2 separate regions of the Homo sapiens genome follow, and region 1 is linked to region 2. Evidence: promoter capture Hi-C in 16 types of primary human blood cells and fetal thymus (Javierre and others, 2016). All regions are on one chromosome and are shown on one strand. Each heading gives the region's core, a stretch centred on a gene start or on the middle of the fragment in contact. The rest is flanking DNA. Distances are from core to core; before and after follow the strand shown. Region 1 overlaps KLF9-DT (KLF9 divergent transcript). Region 2 holds the start of NMRK1 (nicotinamide riboside kinase 1).

The links. The method cuts DNA at HindIII sites, captures the fragments that hold promoters and counts their contacts. A CHiCAGO score of 5 or more calls a contact.
Region 1: a contact is called between a fragment that was not itself captured here and the fragment with the promoter of NMRK1 in region 2, in 2 of 17 cell types (total B cells and total CD4 T cells). The highest score is 5.8, in total B cells.

What each region holds. Positions count from the first base shown.
Region 1 is chr9:70,418,182-70,421,695 of GRCh38, forward strand. All of the region lies in intron 1 of KLF9-DT (KLF9 divergent transcript), which reads left to right. Among named protein-coding and RNA genes, the nearest start is that of KLF9, 5.3 kb to the left of the region's middle. RefSeq lists an enhancer at 624-1,345 and silencers at 783-1,092, 1,193-1,242, 2,173-2,262. The HindIII fragment of the contact is 2,727 bases long and covers 586-3,312 here.
Region 2 is chr9:75,086,905-75,090,158 of GRCh38, forward strand. It overlaps NMRK1 (nicotinamide riboside kinase 1), which reads right to left and starts at 1,251. Exons shown (of 9, transcript NM_017881.3): 1 at 1,104-1,251. It overlaps OSTF1 (osteoclast stimulating factor 1), which reads left to right and starts at 1,610. Exons shown (of 10, transcript NM_012383.5): 1 at 1,610-1,822. The coding sequence starts at 1,789. RefSeq lists silencers at 1,121-1,720, 1,911-2,000. The HindIII fragment of the contact is 4,153 bases long and covers 1-3,254 here.

The DNA.
Region 1 (3,514 bases), core at 699-3,198, 4.7 Mb before region 2:
CAAAGCGCTGGGATTAACAGGCGTGAGCCACCGCGCCTGGCCCAAGGTAAATTTTTCACCCTAGCGGGGAGTAAGGTACTTCCTGGCATATGCAGCACAGATTCCCAGGCCCCTCCCCTGGAGATTTTTATTCAAACTGTGCCCCAAGGCAGGGTTTCCCCACCTTGCAGGGTGGAGCTAATCACCTGGCGCTCGATTTAAAATACAGATTGCCGGGTGTCACCCCTGCTCAAGGACCAGGGAAGTTCAGGCTAAAATCACACTCTGTAGGTATTGGGTTCTGCCAGTTCTGGCTTTTCTCACTCTTTCCTGCTGGGAGGGGTGGACCGTGCCGGGCAGAACTGCCAGCCTCCAGGCGGGAAGGAAGGAGGAGAACAGATGGCCCACTGGGGGTAGAGGATCACGTGTTGGACCTCATTCTGGGCTGCATCCAGACCTCTCCCTTTCAGGGCCCAGCCCCTCCAGCTCCAGCGACCCCACCTAGGCACACGGAACATATGTGGAGGAAACCAGTGTTCATTTTGTTGAAAGCAGGGGAATTAGAGAAGGAGGCGAGCTTGAGGAGGGGAGAGGCTAAAGGGATAAAGCTTCCAACAATGGCGATGTTCCTGGATTTTGAAATACAATCAGGTAAAGCCCGATCTGGTGGAACGCCCGTGGCCATAATGACAGCTAACACCCAGGGGCTGGAGGGGGAAGGGCGCTCAGGCAAGCGCGAAAACTTGCACGCCGCCCTACTTTGCTCCCGCCCCACTTAGCAGCCTTCCGCAAAACTCCAGCCCTCTCCTCTGCAGCGCAGAAAGGCCGCCCGTTCATGCATATGCAGGAGGATAAGTTTAGCTCGCAGCCCCCCGCGCTCCGACCGGCCCAGCGCGGCACTCGGTGAATCACCCGCGCTCGGGGGCGGGCGCTCGGCTCCGGCCGCGGACTGGCGGGCGACTCAGCCACTCGTGGACCGCGCGCCCCGGCCTGGCATCGCCCTTTTAAAAAGTCTTCCGCAGGCGGCCGCCGCCGCAGCAGCCTGAGGAGGCGAGTTCATCTGAGGACAGTCCCAGTTCTCAGAAATCCCTTCCCTGCTGGAACATCAAGCTCCCTTTACTGCAGTTGAACAAACTGCCCTAGATTGGGGGACCAGGAACCCGCCCCAAACTCGTGCAAGGAGCTCCGGGCGCCCACGCCCACGTGAGCTAACCTTGAAATTAGCCCCTGCACCCGGGAGCGCGGGGGTGGGAGTGGGCGGGGACCGGGGGGGAGCCCCGCGCGGCCCAGGCCCTTGCTTTGCGCTCTCCGCGTGCACGTACCGCCCCCGCCACCCTGTTTCATAACTCTGGCGGTGTTGCATTTTTTTTTCTTTTAATCTCCCGGGTAGATGGGTGTGGGGTTCCTGTGTTGGGGAGAGGGCAGGGCACCTTGGCCACCTTCCATCCCCCACGCCCGCGAGGAAGAGGAAAACCTGCCCTGCGGTCCTCCTAGGAACACTGCAGAGTAGGGTGTCGAGATGACATCAGCTTCTAAACATAGCAAGCACCGCACCCCAACTCCATGGGCTGCGGGGGTGGGGAGGGAGTGGGGGAGGCGGGTGCTGCTGTCCCCGGGCGGGGCGTGGCGGGCAGGCCGGCCAGGCTGTGCGGGAGGAGATGACTTTGCAGGAATTGCGCTCCCAGAGTTTGCCGGCAGATCTCTCCCGCGATGGCCCGGCCAAGGGGTTAGGAAACATTCCTGCCATTCCGTGCTCTCCCCTACCCCACAAGAACCACACGCACGCACACACGCACTCTTGGATCGAATGTGCCTTTATTTATAAATCAATCCAGCCCCAGCCCAGGTTCGGTCCGGTCCCGGGAGCACCTGCGCCCCGCGTCTGCCTTCAGGCTAAGCCTGCGAGGGGTTCGGTGTGGCCCTCCCAGTGAGTCAGAATGGGCTGTGTTTCCTGTGGTTGTTGTGGAACAGTTTGTCCTTTTTACTCTCCGCCCCCCCCGCCCCGTCTCCACCCCCTTGGTAAATATAGCGCTCACGTTTCATCATCTCTTTGTCCAACGAGTGCCAGACACCCCGGCCCGCGGCCCCCGCCGCCTCCCTCCTCCTCTCCGCTCGGTTACCTCGCATAACCTCGCGCGGGCAGGCACCGGGCAGCAGCTCTCCCCGCGGCCGCGCCCGCCCGGCACCCAGCGCTTCCCGCCGCAGCACACCCCCAACCCATTCTCCCCTCCCCTTCTTCCAGTTCCCCCTTCTGTACGGCCCCCATGCTCTTGTCCCACCCCCTCTACTCGGCGTCCGGGTACTGGGTCGAGACGTGTGTAGGTGTAGGGAGGTGGATAGCCCTTTTCCGAGCCGTAGGCGTCACCCCTACGCCCAGGCCCAGGCCCAGTGCTGGATCCTGCACTTTCCCAACCTCCCCCTCCCAAGTTCCAAGGTTGCCCTCTGTTCCCCTCCCAAGCGCAGGTGACAAGCTGCTGAGACAGTGTCTGATTCACCGACAGCTGAACCAGCTACTGGTACTTGGAGGTGGGCGTTTGCTGAACTGTTTTCCTCCCACCTCCCCCAACCCCCTACCCCGGTGGGGAGCGGGCTGGAGGGTCGGAAGAGGCAAGGTGGATGACAGCCGAGAAGTGCGTGCCCGCTCTTCCCTCTCTCCCTCCTCCTCCCAGTTTCATTTCCACACATACAGCCACCCACCGGGGACCGGAGGCGGCTAGTGTTCTCTGAACGCCGGGAACTGGCTCTCTCTGTGGTCTCCTGTTTACTTCCCTCCTCCTCTTTTCCCCTCCCTTCTCCCCGCCCCCATCTCCCGGCGCCGCTTCCCGCCCAGAGCAGCTGGGAAACCTGCAGCTGAACACTGCAGTCATGGGACTTCCCTGGCCCCGAGCTGTGCCCCAGGTTTGCCCTGTCCTGTCCTGCCTTGCCCTGTGTCCGCTTTTTGGGGGGCACTTATTTGTCCTGAAAAGGGTCTTAAGGCTCCCTATCCAGGAACGTGGAAGAGGTGACTGCTTCCCTCCCCCTTCCTCTCCTCCTGACTCCCCTGCCAGCTACCTTCCTGTGGGGGCCCTGCCTGGCTGTCTTTTTTGGCCAGGATTCTGGGCCACCCCCACGAGTGGCCACCTGTCCAGGGAGAAGTGGTGAGACAGCTAACGGTGTGTAAGAACTCTGCATCCAGGATGCTGCAGAGCTGGCTTCTTTGCCATCACAGACTGTCCTGTTCGTAACAGGGTGCCCAAAATTCTCTGCCGACCAAGGTTTTCAGGCAGAACCCCAAAACCTGCTCCTAGGGACACACCCTCTCCTTATGGAGTCTGGCAAAACCTTTCCTTTCAAAGCTTGCTTCACAGCGGGGAAGAATGCAGGCTCTCTCCCTAAGTAAGCTGAATGAACAAAGGACTCCAAGGAGGCCGTGGGGGTTCCAGCTCTGGGTGCCGCCTGCCTGAAGTTCACCCCATTTAAAAACCACCTCTTCACCACCACCCTCTGCTCCACTGCCATGGTTACCAGCTCCCTGTCCTTCCCAGCACAATGTTGC
Region 2 (3,254 bases), core at 1-2,500:
TGGGTTTTTTTTTTTTTTTTAAGACAGAGTCTCGCTCTGTTGCCAGGCTGGAGTGCAGTGGCGCAATCTCGGCTTACTGCAACCTCCGCCTTCTGGGTTCAAGTGATTCTCCTGCCCCAGCCTCCCGAGTAGCTGGGACTACAGGCGTCTGCCACCACGCCCGGCTAATTTTTTGCAGTTTTAGTAGAGATCGGGTTTCACCAGGTTGGCCAAGATGGTCTTGATCTCTTGACCTCGTGATCCACCCGCCTTGCCCTCCCAAAGTGCTGGGATTACAGACGTGAAGGGCTGGGGTTTTTGAAAACGCAATTCATGCCCCTCCCCCATTGGTTTCATTTATGTAGGTTCTTAGGTAAACAGTTTTTTCTTTCCCCAAATATACAATTAATTTACAATATTGACTGTTATTTTGAACTTATGCCATTGGCTTCCTTGTGTGCTCCAGTTCTTTCCTCCCACCGAAGATTCAATCCGATAGATCAGGGGTAGGAAAACTTTTTCTGTAAAGTGCCAGACAGGAAATGCTTTGGGCTTTGCCAGCTGCTACTCAACCCTGCTGGGTAATGCGAAAGCGGCCACAGAAAACACAGATGCAAATGAGCGTGACCGTGTTCCAGTAAAATTTTACGGACACTGAAATCGTAATTTCATGTAATTTTCACGTGTCACAAAGTATTATATTTCTTTTTATTTCTTTTCAGTCATTAAAAAAAGTAAAAAAAAAAAAAATTCTTAGCAGGCCTTACAGTAACAGGCAGCAGGCGGGCAGTAGGTCATCACCCCAACGCTAGAGGAATGAGACCATATCGATCCGCGAGGATCAAGTCCTGATCCTGTCCCTGGCGACTTCTCCAGGCTGCGCGGTCTCTTGGAGGCAGCGTTCCCATTTTCAGGATTATTCCGGGGCGCTAGAGCACCACGCCACCATGAGTACACGTCCTCCTCGGCAGGCCACCTATCAGCTCTGTGAGGGTGGCAAGAGTCCAGGCAAGGCTTTCAGGGCGCAACCAAGTCCCGGGCTCCAGCACAGAAACCCTCTGGAAACACCTCCAGGCCCCAGCAAGGCGGCGCGGCGCGGCAGGGGCGAGCAGGTACGCACTCACCTGGCGCCAGTTCGAGTCCTCCCAAACACAGCGGCAGAGGCGACAGCCAAGCGCGCGCCTGTACCCAGTGCGCCGCTACCCGCAGCTCGCTCCCCGAGAGGCCCACAGCCCCTTTCCCCACGCTCCTCCTGGGTTAGAGGGATGCCAGGTAGGGGCGGTCACCAGAGGCCCCTTTTCTCTACTCTCGGCGCCGGGTTCCAGCCCCCGTTGGGGCGGGGCGGGGCGGGGCGGGGCTCCGGCTAGCTTGGCCTCTTCCGCGCGCCCCTGCGCAGCTCCGGCCCTTCCCTATCGGGAGCGCGCGCGGCCCGCGGCACTGCACTGGCGCACGCCCGCTTCGCCCTCGCTCGGCTCCGGCTGGTTCCGCCGCCGTGCGCGCCGCCCGCGCTCCTGCTGCGGCGAAGCTGCCAGCCCGGGAGCCAATTAGCGCTCGGCTAGGCGGGGTCCACTTCCTCGTCGGCCCGGCGCGCGCTCTGGACTGCTCCGGCGGCCGCGGGGCGGGGCGGAGCACTCGGCGGAGCCGCTCTGCCTGCGTCCGCTCTTCCCGCAGCCAAGGGTGGGCGCCGGTCCTAGGAGGCGCACGGTTGTAAGCCAGACAAAAAGAACTGGGGTGCCCGGAGTGCCAGGTGGCGGGCAAGCGGTGGGCTTTTCGGCGGGGTCTTTAGGATTTGCAGCTCCAGGAAGCGAGATGTCGAAGCCGCCACCCAAACCAGTCAAACCAGGTGAGGGAGGTAAGGTAGGCGCTTGCCAGGTCCTGCGACCGCCGCGGTGCCGGCGCCTCCTCTGCAGCTTGGCAGGGAGGACCCGGCGCGCACCCGGCCCCGAGCCTGGCTTCCGAGATCGGCCCCACCGGGATGGGCGCTCTTAGTTTTGCGTTCGCTGTTACGGAGGAGGGATCGATTTTGATAGCAAGAGGATTTCGAGGATTAATATATATATATATATTTAAAGGGGAGTAGCCCTCACTTTTGCTACGTTGTCATTCGCTGAAACTTTCAGAGGGTGTGATGGCAACGTCCCATGGAAGTTTTCCGGAAAGACAGGGCCATTGATCTCCCTTTAAAAAATGTCATGAAATGATCTTTAGCCACTTCCTCTTTTCTCAGTGTTTGTCACTGTCAAGTTAGGGTTCCTGACCGGCCAGAGCGAACGGGAAGTGCAATCCCTGCAGGGTGGGGTGGGCGAGCGAGCCTCCCTCGGGACTTAAGCGTGGAGCAGCGTTTGAAATTGACCTCGGGATCTTGGGAAGAGCGTTTAGAAAAAAACCCTATACTCGCGCTCCTGGTGGAAAGAATCTAGGATGCGGCAGTGATCTCAGCTGTTGCTATTTGGAAGTGTCATTTTATCATCTCCTTTGCCTTTGCTCTCCCAAAGACGTTGGCGTGCTAAACCTGAGAGGGCTGAGATTACTAAATTCCTCAAAGCAGTTTTCTGGGCGGATTGTCCTTGTTCATTTTTGCTCTGTTCTTAGAATATTTTCTGTGATATGCAGAAATAAGATAATTGTAAAAGAAACTGACGTATTTTAATTAAAAGTTGTAACATACTGTTCCGCTCATTCATTTGGGTAGGTAATTAGAAAGGACTGACGTATTTCAATACTTTAACAACTCTTACGTGCATTCATTTGGGTAGGTAATTAAGGGAAATACAGGAAATGGAAGATAAATGGCTCCGATGTATTCTTGGGTTTTTTCTTCCCATAGTGTAATTTCGGTATAGCGAAATGCTGAAATTTAATCCATTTACGTCAAATTTTGAAGTAACTTTCTTTGCAAGAGATGAGTTTCAGTGATTACTTTTTTCCTTGATTTTCCTAAACTCTATAGCTTTCATACTTATCTAGTTTTGTTTCTTTGCGTTCCTGCAGTTGGAGTATGAAGTCCCTTTATTTGATAATCATGTACGTACGTATGTGGAATAGTGCTTCACTGAGGACTGACATCTTGGTGGGCTGAGTGTGAAGGAAGTTGCTGAGACTGGCTCTGCCCTGGGCAAAGATGGGGCACAGCTAGAGTTGGGTTCTGCATTGCATTAGATGTGGAATCTGATGAGAAATTTCCATTTTAAGTGCATATGTATGAGGTAGCTTTCTAAACTCAGGTGCAAATCAGGACCTTAAGTATCTAACAGTGCAGAGTTGTTCTTTGATAG